Regions from separate parts of the Homo sapiens genome. Here regions 1, 3, 4 and 5 are each linked to region 2. The links are contacts of gene promoters, found by promoter capture Hi-C in human tissues and cell types (Jung and others, 2019). All regions are on one chromosome and are shown on one strand. Each heading gives the region's core, a stretch centred on a gene start or on the middle of the fragment in contact. The rest is flanking DNA. Distances are from core to core; before and after follow the strand shown.

Region 1 (3,432 bases), core at 688-3,187, 200 kb after region 2:
GCTTGGAGGAGCCATAACTAGACTGTGAAAAGAAAGACGGTACTTTGATAATGCAATCCACACGGTAAGTGGATCATTACGGAAGAACCTTCTGGGCTAATAACAAGGTTAAAAAAAAAATACTTGACTCACTTAAGTCAGTCAACCAATGATCCAAGAATAAGAGAATGAAGAAAAAAACATATGCACAACAACTGACATCCTGTTGGTAGGGACTCTTGGTCCTAAATTTACTATGAGATTTGTTATGCCAGCCCAGCCAACACTGGCTTTGATCAAATGCGAAGAGGGAATAGAGCCAGCGTTCCCAACTGTTTCTGCTTCCAGTCATCCTGGGACCGAAGCCGGAAAACACACACACAAGAAGCAAGCTTTCATTCCTGCAAATTCTAATGGTTCTTCCCCAGCAGTCTCCAGCTTTTCAATGCTTCCGAAACTGAGTGCTAACAGGGGCAATTAGTGCTGGTACAAAAATCACTGAAAATAAAAAGAAATAATAATAAAGAAAAAAATCACTGCTGAAAGATAAAAACACCATCATTTAATTCACATGCTCTTTTCAGGCAGAGCTATGCATGGGGGTGATTCAGGGGTACTGACCTTGGCAATATTATAGACGTGGTACACTTATTATAAAGATTTTCTGGCAAAAGGCTCTAAAGAATCTAATTCTAACAAATTTAATATGTTTCAATGGTGTTCTTACAGATGGCTGTGCCTTGAGGTCCTTTCTCCAGTCAGCAAAGAGGCCCTGCATGGAGTGGCGGCACCACGCTCCCAGGGGATGCCAATACCTCACGAGGTACTTCCATGCTCAGGTCAGGAGGGGCCTTCTGGGCTGTTTCCAGAGCCAGGCCCTTGGAGCAAAATGGTAGCACACGCAATACAAAATAGGTAATCTCAAAACATTCCAGTATGGTTTGAAAAGGCTTTGATGTGAAAGTGACTTTCCTTACAAAGCTAAATTAATTCTTAAATTACCATGCCTGTGAACAAATTCAGATGCAAAGTGATTGGCAAGTAACTCTTTCTTATGCCCAGCCCCAGGCTCATCTGCTCTGGGAATAGAGGGACAAATGTAACAGCAAGGCAGGCCAGGCTAGATGGGGAAATGGCAGGTGCCCCTGACACAGGAAGCAGGGAGGTGACAGATGAGACCAGGGTTATCATTCCAGAAATTAGCCACCATCACAGAAGTTCCAGCCAGCCACAGAACTGTCCCCATCAATACTTAAGCCAATCAGCCCCAAAGAGCATCAAAGGCTGAAAGATCTGGACAGCAGGGAGAGGCCTCAGGAGCTCCTGGCTGGCTCGCTGTGCTGCGTCATGATGATGTGACTGCACATTGCAGATGACGGAGCTTCATCGACATCCCTCACAGACAGGACAGCTTTCACTGCATTTTTACTTTTTGTTTATGCCCCCACTCCCCTGTCTTTGTCACTCAAGATTTTACTGTATTTAAGGAAAAACTGATAATGCAGAGTATTTTGTAGCTGGAGGAAATCAGGATGTAATTCAGGATTTGCCCAGAAATTAACATGTGAATAATATACAGGCACCAAGAACTGGAGTCAATGCATACACATTCCGGCTATTTACAGGTAAGAGTGAAGTTACTAATACAGCTGATACCTAAAAATCTCTATAGCTGAAAAAATTCATCACTTTAGAAACTGGAGTATCAAGCGTGAACCTGACAAGAGAAGTGACTGTTTTGTTTCAGATTTACCTCGTCTTCCTCTTCGGGCATCTTAATGGAATTATCTGGGGACTTCACAGGCTTCTGGTTACTGGGCCCATTGGTCTCTTCTTTACCATGTTCTGCCTCCCATTCTTGTAAAACTTCATCTATGTTGAAGCGGCGTCGATAATTTACAAAAAAGTTTTTCACTTGTACCACTGATTTGTTCCCAATCACGTCTGAGATTGCCTGAAAATCTCGGCCATATTTCCTGATGGCTAAGGATGTAAGAAAGCATTTTTTAAAATACAAGAGAAAAACATTTTTTTAAAACCACAAGTGACACTTACCTCTTTATCCAGATAAGAAAACATACAGGCTTTTAACAGCAGGCAATAATTTCGTGTATTATTAGAGTAGGAAAAAGTACCAGCCAATTCTAGACACATTCTGGAGATGACCGACCCTGTCATTTTGATATCTGTCTTCCCATTACATGTCACATAACAGCTGAAGTCACCCAGCAATTGCCCTAGGGTTGGGGACATTCTGCATTCATCTTTTGGTATCGCAGGTCCAGAGCACCCCCAACCTTTAAAGCTGAACACTCTGTCTGCTTCTTTTGGGGTTTTGTACTTCCTGGCTAGTCAGAGCTCGATGAGTAACTAGTAAAATGAAATACACCTTTAGAAGACTCAGGGTTCCCGGTTAAGTTTTTACAACTTGTGAGAAGTGGGAAAGGAAAAGAAAAAAGCCCAAAGGAATACAGTAATTTGGCTAAAATGATATCCACTAGGACATAATTGTCCAAGAATCTAGGTGCTGGGAGTAGGGCAGGACGTAACTTTTCCCTAAAATCTACCAATGCTCCTAAGCTCTTTTTTTTCCATTAAAAAAAAAATTTTTTTTTTTTAAAGTCAGGGTCTCCCTCTGTTGTCCAGGCTGGAATGCAGTGGTGTGATCATGGATCAATGCAGCCTTGAGCTCCTGGGCTCAAGCAAATGCGTCAACCTTCCAAAATGTTGGGATTACAGGTGTGAGCCACCACAGCCGGCCTCCTAAACTCTTTAGAAGAACTTCCCCCTACCTTGTACGGCGAGAAGCTGCTCTTCTGTAGTCCAACGTGCATTACATTTCTGAATGACCTGGATATCCAAATGAGTCATTTTAGCACATTACATTTAGAGATGAGTATGTCCTTATGAGCTTAACGAACCTTTCATTTTCTCTTATCGGAATTTTAACATCAACTGGGTTCATAAAATTATGTCCATATACTCTTCCAAGAGATGTATACTGGGGATGTATCACACCGATATTAAATTCTTAAACATGTAAAACTTGAATATGACTTCTAAGATGATGTTAACATAATCCTACCTCTGGAAGTCGATATGGTTCTATTCCACCATCAAGTTTTTCTTTGAGAGCACTGTTTGTCTGTTTAATATTCTGGATCTAGGAAGGAAAAAATAATTTTCATTTTAAAAATAAAAACTATATAAAGGTATGAAAACAGAACTTAAAAACCTAAAGAAACAAAAACCCAAGAGTAAAGACGTTACTAACATCTGTTGTAGCTGAATTCTGAGATCCCTATGGTATCCTTTGAAGCATCTAACTAGGTTTATTATTTGCTTGTTCAGAGCAACAGATAAGGTACAACCCAAGGAGGAGGGGACGGAGGGCTCTCACGTACACAGTCCTGGATCCACAGCTTCCTAACAGGTGATACCTGAGCAGCAAAA
Region 2 (3,513 bases), core at 386-2,885:
GACAAGGCAAGGCTTTGGGGGAAGGGCATGGAGCAGGCGCTTCCTGGGAAGACCACCCACTGCTGGGCATCACAAGGGCTGTGGGGACAGGGGTGCCTCCCATCCCTCCCAGGACACAGCCTGGCTGGGACCATGGGACCAAGCTCCCCTAGGTTCCCCCCCACTCCCTGCCTCCTAGAATATTCTCCAGAGGCCAAAGTCCCAGTCCTGCAGTGCCTCCATGCCGGTGGGGTCCGCCCTCAAGGCACAGCAGTCCCTGAAGGCGCTTCAGAGACTCTGTGAACCCCCAGCCCAGTGGCAGTAGCAGCCCGGCCTTACCATGTCTGAGACGGCGTGACCTTCTTGCACCAGGACTGACACCATCTGCAGGAAGAAGCTGCCTCAGCCGAGCCGGGAGCAACCCCCACCGGGGCCACACGGTCTCAGGGGTCCAGGCCCATCACCGACCCCGCCGGCGCTCCCAGGCACCTTGTCCGCCGGGAACTCAACGGCGCCGCCGGCGCACGGGGTCCGGTTCTGGCTCCAGTTGGCTGCGACGTCGAAGTCCGTGTTGGGGACCCAGAGTTTGGAGACCGCCTGGGTCAGTGCTGGGGAGGAGGCGACTGAGTGCCCGGGATGCTCTCCGGGATGCTCCCTTCTCAGGGAAGGCCACCCACCCAGAGAAGTGCGGAAGGTCCGCGCGGATCACCCGGGACGCATAGGAACCCCATCCCCGGGGGCCCGGACCCAGACCCTGGTCCCTCCCGGCCAGACTGTGGGCGCCCTGCCCGGGCGCTCTCCAACGGACTTCTACTGATACCTGCAGAGCCCGCTCAAACGCGCCCTGCAGGACGCCTGCCTAGATAGCCTCCCGGCACTGCCCCCAGTTTGCCTGGCGCTGGAGCAGAGGACAGCGTTGTTAAGGACAGTGACAACTGGGGCATGGAGGAGGATGGGGCAGCACAGACCTCTTCTCGGCCTTGGAATCAGGAAGGCTTCCCGGAGGAGTCCTACCTGGGCCGGGAAGAGCTGCGACAGAGCGCAACCCGGTATGAGAAGTAAGAAGGGGCTGGGGGCGGCAGGACCAGGTCAGGCCGGCCCTGAATGTGGTGGGTGGGGTTGTCCTGAGGGAGCCGCGAGGGGTTTAGGGAAGGGGGCGCCAGGGACACGCGCCGGCCTGGTGTGAAGGCGGAGGAGGGCTCAGTGCTCCCTTGGGGACCGGGAAGCTGAGGCGGTCTGCCGAGCCCCGCAGGCGCACACTCGCTGCTCTCGGCAGGTTCTGGGGACCGCGCCCATTTCGCAGACGGAAAAACCGCGAGGGCAGGAGCCGCCGGAGGCCGGGGCTGGCCGAGGTTCCCGGAGCCCCTCCTCTCCTCTCCCGCACCGCCCGATGCACTGGCCGCGCACTTCCGGGCTGCGCACTCGCCAGACGAGGGAGGCAGGGCCGAGTTTCACGCCCCCAACCCTCCAAAGCCCTCCCTGCCCACTCCTCGGAAGATCTTCACCCTCCAGGCCTAGAGCGACCTCGGCCCTGGGTCCTGACAGACCGCTACCGTCCGGGCCCGCACCGGTGTGGTCCCGGCTCACCGCAGAGCTGCAGCCACAGCAGGACCCGGCCCAGGACGCCCATCTCGCCTCGGCTCCTTGCACCCCACCAGGAGACTTTGCCCCACTGGACCCACGTGACCAGGCAGGTCGGGTGGGGGCACCAGGGTCGGTTACACATTTACCTCCAGACCCGCCCAGGGCCGACTCTTCAGGCCCCTGGGAGGCACCTTCTCAGCCTCCCCTTACCCGCCCCTGCAGGGCCTGAACACCTTAGGTTCTCAGGAAGAAGGGCAAAGAAGAAGGGCTTGGCGAGACTGACCTACCCTGTAAAATGGGTGTCTTGCCGGGAGGGGGAATAAACGACCTTTGAATTCACCCCTTTCTCTGTCCTGTGTGCTGCTAGGGCTGAGCTAGTCTGCTCACCATTGGAACTGGGTGTCCACTTCTCCACGCAGTGCCCCTGTCCCATGGGCTGTGGGTGGTGGTTGGATGATAGAAGGAAGATCCTGGATGGAACATGGTATGTGGATGGTATAGGAGGGTGGATTGTGGATGATGGTGGAGAGTAGTGGATGGTGAGTAGGGGACAGCTGATGGACAGCAACATTGATGGTGCATGGTGTACGGCATATGGACGCATGGCAGATGAATGGTAAATGGTTGACGGGGTGGATGGTGAGTGATAGAGGGTGGATGGGTGATGAATGGATGGATGAGGATGGTGAGTGAAAAATGAATGAATGGCCGGGCGTGGTGGCTCATGCCTGTAATCCCAGCACTTTGGGAGGGTGAGGCAGGCGGATCGCGAGGTCAGGAGATCAAGACCATCCTGGCTAACGCGGTGAAACCCCGTCTATACTAAAAATATACAAAAAAATTAACCGGGCATGGTAGAAGGCGCCTGTAGTCCCAGCTACTTGGGGGGCTGAGGCAGAACGGCGTGAACCCAGGAGGTGGAGCTTGCAGTGAGCCACGATCGTGCGCTGCACTCCAGCCTGAGCGACAGAGCGAGACTCCGTCTCAAAAAAAAAAAAAAAAAAAGGAAAAGGAATGGATGGTAATCAGGGAGTGGTGGATGGATAATGGCATAAATGGATACATGGCCGACAGGTAGATCATAAAGAGTGGGTGTTGGCGGGGCACGGTGGCTCACGCCTGTAACCGCAGCACTTTGGGAGGCCAAGGCGGGCAGATCACCTGAGGTCGGGAGTTCGAGACCAGCCTGACCAACATGGAGAAACCCCATCTCTACTAAAAATACAAAATTAGATAGGCATGGTGGCACATGCCTGTAATCCCAGCTACTTGGGAGGCTAAGGCAGGAGAATCGTTTGAACCTGGAAGGCGGAGGTTGTGGTGATCGGAGATCACGCCACTGTGCTCCAGCCTGGGCAACAAGAGTGAAACCCCATCTCAAAAAAAAAAAAGTGGGTGTTAAATGGTGGATGTTTGGTGAGTGATGAATGCTGAATGGATGGATGGTGGATGGTGAATAGATAGATGGTAAATGGATAGATGGTGGATGATGGTTGCATAAATGGTGAATTGTGGATGGAGATGGACGGTGGATAGTGAATAGATGGTGGATAGTGAATAGACAGTGGATAGTGGATAATGGGTGGATAGTAGATGGTGGATAGGATGATAAATGGATGGGTAATGGATGGTAGATAAGTAGATAATGGATAAATGGTGGATGATGGATGGTAGGTGGATGATGGTTGGTGGGTGGTGGATAATGGACAAGTGAATGGTGATGAGTAGATGGTGAATATTAAGTGGATGGATGGGCGGCAGATGGTAGATAGTGGATGATAGATGGTGGATGGTGGATGGTAAGATGAATAGTGGTTGGTGGATGGTGGGTGGTGGATGGTGGGTGGATGGAAGGATGGGTGGTGAATGAGTGAATGGTGGATGGTGAATAGGTGGATGGTGGATGGTGGATGGTGAATGGCCGATGGTGGATGTGAATGGTGATGGGTG
Region 3 (3,450 bases), core at 378-2,877, 160 kb after region 2:
ACACGGCGAAACCCCATCTCCACTAAAAATACAAAAAATTAGCCGGGCATGGTGGCGGGCGCCTGTAGTCCCAGCTACTCGGGAGGCTGAGGCAGGAGAATGGCGTGAACCCGGGAGGCGGAGCTTGCAGTGAGCCGAGATGGCGCCACCGCACTCCAGCCTGGGCGACAGAGCGAGACTCCGTCTCAAAAAAAAAAAAAATTCGTTCGTTCACTCCGTCCACTGTACAGTTGAAGAACGGGGTCTTTTCTGAGCCTGTTAAACTGTAAACCCTGCAAAGTTGCCCAGCCGGGCTGGGGGTCTGTCATTGCCACTGCCCTCCTGTGAACCCCACACATGTGAGCCGGTGGCCCCCTTTCCTCCCCACCTCTTTAACTTCACTGCACCCAGGCTTCATAACCCTCTGCGTGGACTCTGAAGAGGGGCAGCCATGAATTCGCTGACGTTGTTTTCAGAACTGTGGGTTGTGGGGTTTTTTGCCCTTGAATGGGTGTCCAGCTGCCAGTGGGTAGTCAAAGGACCTGAAACCCTAAAAATGCAATAGAATTTCTGACATTTGGTCAGGAATAATAATAATAATAAAAAATCAGCCTAAACATACAACTTTTTTTTTTTTTTTTTTTTTTTTTTTTTTGAGACAGAGTCTCGCTCTGTCGCCCAGGCTGGAGTGCCGTGGCACAATCTCGGCTCACTGCAAGCTCTGCCTCCCGGGTTCACACCATTCTCCTGCCTCAGCCTCCCGAGTAGCTGGGACTACAGGCGCCCGCCACCACACCCGGCTAATTTTTTTATTTTTAGTAGAGACGGGGTTTCACTGTGTTAGCCAGGATGGTCTTGATCTCCTGACATTGTAATACGCCCACCTCGGCCTCCCAAAGTGCTGGGATTACAGGCATGAGCCACCGCGCCTGGCCCTAAACATACAACTTCTAATGCTTTTCATAACGAGGCAAAATCCAGTAGCATCATTTAGATGCATTGAAGTTGGGAAAATTTCAAAAGTGCTGGAATTTCCTCCAAGCCATTCCCTGACTCTACCCACCCCTCCCATCCCCTTATACCTGCCACCATTCCCCCCCAGCATTTCCCCCATCCCTCCCCATCCTCCTATTCTACCCCCATTCCCCCAACCAGTTCCCCCACCATCCTCCCTTATTCTCCCTACAACCCCCTTGCAATTCCCCCCATGCCTGCCATTCCCTACCACTCTATTCCTTCCCCACCAGTCCCCGACCCTGCTCATGCTTCCCCCTTCCTCCCCCAACCTGCTCACCATCCTCAGCCTCCCCCCAAAGACTGAAGAGTGGGCAGCCCCTGAGGGCTGGGAATAAACACCAACATCTCTACACAGAATCCCAACTCCTGAGAGCTCTGACTGCAGGGCCACGTGTTTCCTGGCCCCTCCCCACTCTCCTAGTCCTTGAAACTCCAGCTCCTCTTTCAGAGACACACAGCCCAGGGTGTGGGCCTGCTCCAGCAGGTTGGAGATGCAGAAGTCTGAGAGGAGACCCAGAGACACCTCAGGCCCTCTGGAAATGGGCAGGCTTCCAGGGTTTCCAACAGAGAAAAAAGACCATTCAGCCAGGAGCGGTGGCTCACGCCTGTAATCCCAGCACTTTGGGAGGCCGAGGCGGGTGGATCACCTGAGGTCGGGAGTTTGAAACCAGCCTGACCAACATGGAGAAACCCCATCTCTACTAAAAATACAAAATTAGCCGGGCATGGTGGCACATGCCTGTAATCCCAGCTACTCGGGAGGCTGAGGCAGGAGAATCACTTGAACCGGGGAGGTGGCGGTTGCAGTGAGCCAAGATCGTGCCATTGCACTCCAGCCTGGGCAACAAGAGCGAAACCCCGTCTCAAAAAAAAAAAAAAACAAACACAAAACAAACAAACAAAACCTAGTGGCTTAAATAACAACGATCTTTTTTTTATTTTCTCCAGATTTCTGGGGGTCAGGAACTCGGGCAAGGTTTAGCTGGAGTCTGTCCTGCAGTTGCCTTCGGACAACGGCTGGAGTTGACTAGTGTGGGGCTGGCCAGGCGTGTGCCCACAGGGGTGCCCCCGGCCTCCTCGCAGCAGGCAGGCAGTCTGGCAGCTTTGAGAGCAGGTGTTCCTGTGCCACACTGACGACCACCATCGGACGTCACATAGTGTCACTTCTGCCATACCCCACTGGCTACAAGCAAGTCACCTGCCTGCCCAGACTCAAGGGGAGGGGACACAGACCTCCCCTATCTCAGAAGGAGCGTCAGACCGCAGTGTCGAAAAGCGTGCTGGGCAGGAAACACCATGGACCACCCTTGGAAAGCACCGCCTTGGCCCTGGAGGTCCCGGGAAGTGGAGCTGGAGCAGGGATTCAGGGCGCGTGGCTTATTGAGGGAAGGCTCTTCAATAAACGCCTGGGAGGGAGGGAAGACAGCGGCACGGGGAAGGGGAAAGAGCCGAGCAAGGGTGTAGGCTCAAGTCAGGTGCTCTCTGGACCACAGCCCACACCACTGCTTTGCCCCGCCTTGAAGAAAGGGGGCCCGGCCAGCCATCGGCTGTGACTCCCAGGCAGTGAGGAAGAGCACAGCCAGGATGTGTGGCTCCTGTCAGCCAAGGCCGTGCTCTGAAAAGGAGGCGGGCGTGCTGTCAACAGCCCGCACTCACCACGGTTAGGGAATGGGTGCAGCAGCCCATGAATGTGGTGCTGGCAGGGCTCAGTGCGGACTGCAGGGTGGTGCACCGTCCTCCTATCTCTGCGCCCGTGCCCCTTGGCATCTGACTTTGTTCCTTCTACGGAGAGGATCTGCTCCCCACTCCTTCCGTTTGGGCCCAGCCATGTCACTTGCTTCAGCCAACGGCACGTGAGCAGGTGTGACACACACACTGAGAGGCTCTGAGCTCCTGAAGATTCTGGAGGCAAATGGGAAGCAGCTGTTGGTGTGTTTCCAGAGAACCCCCAACCATGGCTCATGCTTTAGCCCTTGGGGCTCTGACTTCTCTGGAGCCTTAGACTTGCAGTTTGGGAAAAGCCAGGTTCACGGGTTCATCTTCCAGTTGCCACAGCTCCAAGTTAGAGCCAGAGAGCGCTCCCAGCAGGTCTGGGAAATGCTGAGCTGCCCGTTGCAAGGCATTTTTTTGGGGGGGGTCTCCTGGATAAAATTTCAATATTAAACATGAAGATTTTGCTATGATTCAATCCTCACTGGGCCTGAGGAAAGAGTTGTAACTACATTTCGATGTAGCATTTGAAGGGATTTAGTGATTTTCCATTAATTTCTTTCAAATGTCAAGGGTATATATCTTTCTTTGAGGACTCAGCCTATGGCAAATTTCAGATTTAAAAAGACCCATCGATGGAGTTATGAGACCAAGAAGGGGAGCCAAAAATCTACAATTCAGAAATTATGAAACAGCTAAGTTTTCAGTTAATTCAAAAACCGTCTCAGTGGAAAATGTTGTAAG
Region 4 (3,775 bases), core at 1,086-3,585, 240 kb after region 2:
GATTATGACCCAGGAGTGAACTACTTGGGGTTCCGCCACTCACTATCTGTGCTACTTTTACAACCCTCTGACTCTTTGAACTATGGGATGCCATCTGTAAAACAGAGAAAAAATCTTCCTCCTGGGTTACTGTGAACACTGAATGATACAGGAGTATGAAAAACATTTTAGTACTGTGCTGGCATAAAGGTTCAAAAAATGCTCAGTATTCTTCATATTCAGTTCTGAGTACAATTTAAGATGGACATTGTGGCCAACTGGAACACACTTAGAAGGACAACAGGAGATGAAAAGAGATCCCCAAAAAAACCATCTGAAAAGGCACCTGAAGCAACTAGCTTGGACTCAGACAGTAAAGGAGATACGATGACTGAACATTTAAAGGACACATATGGAAGCAAACTTATTTAGCAAAGTTCAGGAAAACAAAGCTTTTACAAATTACAGGGAGGCAGATTTTTAGTGCTCTGTAAGAAAGAACATGTTCAAAAATGGAACAGATCACAGGGCGCAGTGGCTCACACCTGTAATCCCAACATTTTGGGAGGCCATGGCAGGCGGATCACCTGAAGTCAGGAGTTTGAGACCAGCCTGGCCAACATGGCAAAACCCCATCTCTACTAAAAATACAAAAATTAGCTGGGTGTGGTAATGGGTGCCTGTAATCCCAGCTATTCAGGAGGCTGGGGCTGGAGAATCACATGAACCCAGGAAGCAGAGATTGCAGTGAGCCCAGATCGTGCTGCTGCACTCCAGCCTGGGCAACAGAGCCAGAATCCATCTCAAAAAATAAAAAATTTTAAAAAAAGAAATATACACTTTAAAACTCTTTAAATTATTTATCTTAAAATAGAAAAGAAATTTAATACATATAGAAGCTTTTACCTTCAAAGGTACCTTTAAAACCTTACATTAAACAAGAAAGGTGGAAAATAAAGTGCTCCAAGACTTACACTTTGCTTCTGACAGATTTTGATTGGGTGACCAGACCAACATGCCAAGATTGTCCCGTTCTTGACTGCGTCTTGCCAGTTTGGCTTGGGAGAAAGAAAAAAGAAAATTCTTATTAAAATTTAACACATATAATAAGCTATAAGTAACAATACCTTTTAATGACATCACCCACCTTTTTACCTGTATCTGGCCCAATGGGCCCCACACTTAACATCAGAGTGAGGATGGAGATGGGGGAGGCGAGAGTCTGCTGAAACATTTCTACTTGCAAGTCCTTTCCTACTTTTACTGATTTTACAGTATGCTGCTCTGCTTTTAGGCATGAGACATCCAAGAAGAAATCCACAGGTGCCAAGGTGCTCAAAGGTTCTTTTAAAATGTTAATTCTTCATGTGTGCTTGCAGCACCCTTACCCTTCTCTGCCTGAGTTACTTTTTAGTGACTTGGCAATAGAAATCCCAAAATTCTTTTAACAGCATTATTAAAGAATAACTATTTAAAAAGTTTAACCTGAAAGGAAACTTCTAAAATGCATACTAATTCTTAAAAATCTGTTTTGCAAAATAGTAGGCCAAAAGGTTTAAAAGTGCCAGGGGTGGAGCTGACATGTATTACTGAATTAACCGCAAGCGGCTGTCATCTATTACAATACACATATCTTCAGAAGGCAAAGACTCGAGAAACAGGAGGTTCAGTGACCATACCTTCACACTGGTTAGGCCCAGACTTATTCATTCTAAAGGTTAATTTTGGCCACTTTTTTTCCTTTAAATAAATTACTCTGAAAATATGATGAAAGTTATGGAACCTAAACTCTAGGGGGAAAAATGCAACTAAATATAACATACAACCTACTATAAACAAAAATCTAGGAAACCCACAGTCTGGTTGACGAATTTCTTCTTTTATGATACCACCAGATCTCCCATCTTTAATTTTGTCTACCAATGTGTTCTAGGTTTCATAAAGAGGAAATTTTACATTTTTAGTAAAATCTGAGAGGCAGTTACTTTAAAGAACCGTAACAGAATAGTGAAAAGGACCCAAAGTGTGAAAAGTATGAATTAGGTAAAATTAAAAGTTGAATTTCTGTTGCAGATGGGAAGAGGATGTAGATGAGAAAGAAATATGACAAAAAAGATGGAGTGACCGCCTTTGAGTTTACCTTCTTTTTTGAGACAGTCTCACTCAGTCACGCAGGCTGGAGTGCAGTGGTGTGATCTTGGCTCCCTGCAACCTCTGCCTCCCAGGCTCAAGCAATTCTCCTGCCTCAGCCTCTTGAGTAGCTGGGACTACAGGTGTGCACCACCACACCCAGCTAATTTTTTATTTTTAGTAGAGACGGGGTTTCATCATATTGGCCAGGCTGGTCTCGAACTCCTGACCTCATGATCTGCCTGCCTTGGCCTCCCAAAGTGCTGGGATTACAGGTGTGAGCCACCACGCCCAGCCCAAGTATACCTTTTTTATAGATATATACATAGTTCTGACTTCAGAACAATGCTAACGCTACAAAGAATCTAAAACAAAAGTCATCAAAGGTATGTGTGGGGAGGGACCCCAAAGGGAATACAAAGACAAATAAGTCCTGCTGTATTTCCAATAAAAGTCTAAAGTAAAACAAAAATAAAGGCATCCACAGTGGAAAGGTACAATCAAAACTGCACGATTATCTGTGTAGAAAATCTACATTTTGTAGAATCTACAAAATGGTACCAGAATAAACAAGTTTAGTAAGGTTGTAGGAAATAATATTAATAGTAAATAGTCAATTCTATTTCTATATACCAGCAATAAAAAAAAAATCAAAAATCAAAATTAAAGATCATTAGCATCAAATATGAAATAACTTAGGGATAAAGTAAGATGTGTACACTGAAAACTACAAAACACTGCTGAGAGAAACTAAAGATGATCTAAGAAGATGAAGAAATAGATCATAGATATAGACTTATTATTAAGAAGGCATTCTTCCCAAACTGCTCTAAAGATTCAATGCAACTCCAATCAAAATTGTAGCACCTTCTTTTGCCGTAATTGATAAATATTCTACAATTCATAAAGAAAGGCAAAGTAAATGAGACAGCCAATGCAATTTTGAAAAAGAGCAAAGTTGGAAGACTTACACTATCTAAATCAAGACTAATTACAAAAAATCAGTAATCAAGAATGTATGGTATTGGCATAAAGACAGAGAAAAGGCCAGGTGCAGTGGCTCACGCCTGTAATCCCAGCACTTTGGGAGGCCGAGGCAGGAGGATCATGAAGTCAGGGGATCAAGACCATCCTGGCTAACATGATGAAACCCCGTCTATACTAAAAATACAAAAAATTAGCCGGGCGTGGTGGCGGGCGCCTGTAGTCCCAGCTACTCGGGAGACTGAGGCAGGAGAATGGCGTGAACGCGAGAGGCGGAGCTTGCAGTGAGCCAAGATTGCACCACTGCACTCCAGCCTGGGTGACAGAGCGAGATTCTGTCTCAAAAAAAAAAAAGAAAAAAAAAGGGAAATAAATGGAATAGAGTCCAAAAACAGAACCACACATACAGGATCAAATGATTTTCCATAAAGGCACGAAGGCAAAATCAAGCCAAAAATAATAATCTTTTCAACAAATGATGCAGGAACAAATGAATATTCACATGCAAAAACAAAACAAACATTTTTTTAAAAAAATTTGGATCCATACCTCAAAATTATCTCAAAACAGATGACAGAACTAAGTGTAAAACTGAAAAATTATAGAATTTCTAAAGAAAAACACATGGAAATCTTTTTGACCTTGGATTGGGAAAGGAGATCTTAGATACAGTACCAAAATC
Region 5 (3,345 bases), core at 484-2,983, 130 kb before region 2:
TTCCAGTTGATACCCCAAAGGCAACCAGTACTCTCACCTCTAACGCCAGATTGTTCTCACCTGCCTTTAAGAAATGAAGGTATTATATATACATACACACAGTGACATGCACTCATCTTAAGAAGACAGTTTGAAGAATGTTTACTTATGCGTGCTCCCATGTAACTACTACCCAAATCCAGGCATAGAACATTACCAGCAGCCCAGAAGGTTCCTCCTCTTGTTCCAGTCAACAACTCCGGCATAGGCAGCCACTCCTCTTCTTCTTCTTCTTCTTCTTATTATTATTACTATTATTAAGACGGAGTCGTGCTCTGTTGCCCATGCTGGAGTGCAGTGGAGCGATCTTGGCTCACTGCACTTTCGCCTCCCGGGTTCAAGTAATTCTCCTGCCTTAGCCTCTCGAGTAGCTGGGACTACAGGCGCGCGCCACCACGCCCGGCTAGTTTTTTGTATTTTAGTAGAGACGGGGTTTCACCGTGTTGCCCAGGCTGGTCTCGAAGTCCTGAGCTCAGGCAATCCGCCCACCTCGGCCTCCTAAAGTGCTGGGATTACAGGTGTGAGCCACCGCGCCAGGCCCACTCCTATTTTTAGCTCCAGAGATTAGTTTTGCTTCAGGCTCCCTTAACGTCCTGCTTCAAACCCCTATCTGCCCCTTCATCGGCTCCACCTGGAGGCCACCGCTTCCACGGAAGCATGACCCCTTCCCCTGCACCCGCGCGCCCCAGAAGCTCTCAGATACCCCCACGATTTCGGTGACCTTCCGCAAGCTCCAGGAAAAGCCCCTCCTCTCCTGACGCCAAGGGTTTGTTGGGGTTGGGGGGTATCTCCATCAGCCTCCCTCCCCCAGCCACCCAAATTAACCAACAATCTTAGTAAATGCAGCGACTCGCTAGGCAAACCCAGCCTGGAGACAAATATCCGGCCCCTTTCCTACCAAACTGTCACACCTAGGCATTGGTCTGCAGGGAGGGCTGGACAGTGGAAACTGAAACCCTCTGCAAGCCATCACGAATCCACCGGGCACTGGGGACGCTGGCTCCCGCCTTGGCAGCATCCCCCAGAAGCCTGGGCCCTGACCCCACACCGTCTGGGCCTCAGTCTCTCATCGGTAAAGTCAGGGGTAGGGCCCGAGTCTTCCAGGACCGCTTCGAGCTGGGACAAGCCGTTTTAAATAGCCCACAACCCGCCGAGGCCATCAGAGCTGCGCCTGCCGGGCCGCCCTCGACCCCCACCTCGGCCGGGCAGGTCCGAGGCCCCGCAGGCAACATGGGCCCGCGGACTGCGGGACGGGGCTCGACGGCCTGAGATCGCGACTCTGCCTCTCCGATACTTGGGGTCGTCTTCGGCCCCGGGATCCGCGACGCGCGCGGTCGGACCCCGAATACTGAAGGCACCGGGTCCGCAGGGCGAAGGCGCACACGCCCACCAGGCGCGCTCTGCGCATGCGCGGGCTCCGCAATCTCAGCGGCCCACTCGCCCCGCCCCGCCCCCCCCACCCCCACCCCGCGCCGCTCCCCAGGCCCGGCCCTGCCTTCCCAGCATCCCGGCTCCCTACGGCAAGCGGCGAGGCCCGAGCCCGCCGGGAGCAGGGAGCCGGGCGCGGGGCGGGGCGGCGCGCTGAGGTCAGCGCGGCGGCGGCCGGCCCCGTAGTGGTTGGCTGCGCTGGTGCTGGCCGCGCCCTGGTTGGCTGCGGGCCGCGGGGCTGGGCCGCCGGGTCGGGGCTGGGGTCGGGCTCGGGCGCCGGCCGGGCTTGCGCAGCGCTAGGCTCCTCGCCGCTCCTAGTCTGCGGCGGCGGCGGCGGGGAGGGCGCGGCCGCGGGCGGGGCTGAGGGCGGCGGGGGCGGGCCGCCCGAGCTGGGAGGGCGGCGGCGCCGAGGGGAGGAGAGCGGCCCATGGACCCGCGGGGCCCGGCGCCCCAGACTCTGCGCCGTCGGGACGGAGCCCAAGATGTCGGCCTAGGCCGGGGCGCGACGACGCGGACGGGGCGGCGAGGAGGCGCCGCTGCTGCCGGGGCTCGCAGCCGCCGAGCCCCCGAGGGCGCGCCCTGACGGACTGGCCGAGCCGGCGGTGAGAGGCCGGCGCGTCGGGAGCGGGCCGCGCGGCACCATGTCGGCCAAGGTGCGGCTCAAGAAGCTGGAGCAGCTGCTCCTGGACGGGCCCTGGCGCAACGAGAGCGCCCTGAGCGTGGAAACGCTGCTCGACGTGCTCGTCTGCCTGTACACCGAGTGCAGCCACTCGGCCCTGCGCCGCGACAAGTACGTGGCCGAGTTCCTCGAGTGGGGTAAGTGCGCGCCGGCAGGGCCGGACCTGCGGCTCTGCGACCCCCGCGCCCCAGCCCGCGCATCCCCACGCCCGCCCATCCCCGCCCGGACAGACCCTGCCGCCCTCCTGCCCACCCAGCTCGTGGGCTTCGCCTCCTCTCGCTCTGGCAGCGCCCCCAGGCCCGCAGCCCATCTCTCTCCAGCCGCTCCTTGCACCCTCGTCCCTCCGCTAGCTTTTCATCCCTCCTTGCCCTCCCTAGGCTCGACATCCGCGTTCGATCGTCCCGCCCCCTCATCCTGCCCCTTGGAGCCACATCCTACGTTCCCACTCCCACCCCCTCCCCCCCGCCGGGCCCTCGCCCTGGCGGCTTCCTAGATCCACCCTCCGAGTCTGGATATCATTTCCTGCAGCACTCACTGGGATATCCGCCCCCGCCCCCGCCCCCGCCCCCGCACCTCGCCTTTGGGGTCCGGAGGCAGTGTGGAATTAGTTCCCTTTCCCCACCCCACGCTTCTCTGCGTTGTGGGGGCAGCTGGGTGTGCTTTCTGCATCTGCCTCGCCCACTGCCCCGTGGGACCCCCTTGCATCCCCAGGGAGCCCAGCTCTAACGGCCCCTCCTGGGTGACAGCCTGTCTACATCCCCTTGTTGGTCAGAGCCTGAATACCTACTTTGCTGTAACACCTTCAAGGGAATTTTAAGGTTAAGGCTTTATTTTAAATAAACCGTGCAAGAGGACTTTTTTTTTTTAATTCCAATTCTGCTAGACCTTTGTGATATTTGGAGGGGTAGCTGGAGCTATCACTTAGAAACTTTCTCATCTGAATTTTGCATGCCTTCTCTAGTTCGTTCCGGATCTATAATGTTTTAATCATTGGTCAGCTAACCTATTATGCTTTTTTAGGACAAAAATTTGATTAAACCATTTAACGATAATTAGGATCCTAAAGACAGGTAAAAGTGCAGCGTGAAACTCTTTTACTTCATCTCTCCCTAACGGGTGTGCCGGTCAAGACCCTCAGACTGTCTCACCTAAAACCACTGAGTAGGAGGAGGAAATGCGTATGTTCAGGCCAAACCTAT

Evidence for each region. The method cuts DNA at HindIII sites, captures the fragments that hold promoters and counts their contacts. A contact is called where the count stands out against the background at its distance.
Region 1: a contact is called between a fragment that was not itself captured here and the fragment with the promoter of AMN in region 2, in 3 of the 25 tissues and cell types used here (lymphoblastoid cells, mesendoderm cells and spleen).
Region 3: a fragment that was not itself captured here is called in contact with the fragment with the promoter of AMN in region 2 in 1 of the 25 tissues and cell types used here (IMR-90 fibroblasts).
Region 4: a contact is called between a fragment that was not itself captured here and the fragment with the promoter of AMN in region 2, in 5 of the 25 tissues and cell types used here (H1 embryonic stem cells, IMR-90 fibroblasts, dorsolateral prefrontal cortex and 2 more).
Region 5: the fragment with the promoter of CDC42BPB here is called in contact with the fragment with the promoter of AMN in region 2 in 1 of the 25 tissues and cell types used here (small bowel).

What each region holds. Positions count from the first base shown.
Region 1 is chr14:102,720,717-102,724,148 of GRCh38, reverse strand. RCOR1 (REST corepressor 1) reads right to left here. Exons shown (of 12, transcript NM_015156.4): 9 at 3,065-3,142; 10 at 2,772-2,829; 11 at 1,733-1,962. Among named protein-coding and RNA genes, the nearest start is that of TRAF3, 55 kb to the left of the region's middle. RefSeq lists an enhancer at 876-2,075. The HindIII fragment of the contact is 7,835 bases long and covers 1-3,432 here.
Region 2 is chr14:102,920,785-102,924,297 of GRCh38, reverse strand. It overlaps AMN (amnion associated transmembrane protein), which reads right to left and starts at 1,635. Exons shown (of 12, transcript NM_030943.4): 1 at 1,567-1,635; 2 at 469-587; 3 at 319-363. The coding sequence starts at 1,609. RefSeq lists silencers at 1-48, 1,212-1,411. The HindIII fragment of the contact is 38,072 bases long and covers 1-3,513 here.
Region 3 is chr14:102,760,118-102,763,567 of GRCh38, reverse strand. It overlaps LOC124903390 (a long non-coding RNA gene), which reads right to left. Exons shown (of 2, transcript XR_007064356.1): 2 at 1,906-3,450. Among named protein-coding and RNA genes, the nearest start is that of TRAF3, 16 kb to the left of the region's middle. The HindIII fragment of the contact is 3,713 bases long and covers 1-3,450 here.
Region 4 is chr14:102,679,157-102,682,931 of GRCh38, reverse strand. It overlaps RCOR1 (REST corepressor 1), which reads right to left. Exons shown (of 12, transcript NM_015156.4): 3 at 954-1,037. Among named protein-coding and RNA genes, the nearest start is that of RCOR1, 88 kb to the right of the region's middle. The HindIII fragment of the contact is 3,359 bases long and covers 656-3,775 here.
Region 5 is chr14:103,055,937-103,059,281 of GRCh38, reverse strand. CDC42BPB (CDC42 binding protein kinase beta) reads left to right here and starts at 1,733. Exons shown (of 37, transcript NM_006035.4): 1 at 1,733-2,283. The coding sequence starts at 2,109. RefSeq lists an enhancer at 596-1,246 and silencers at 1,242-1,351, 1,392-1,891, 1,982-2,061. The HindIII fragment of the contact is 24,533 bases long and covers 1-3,345 here.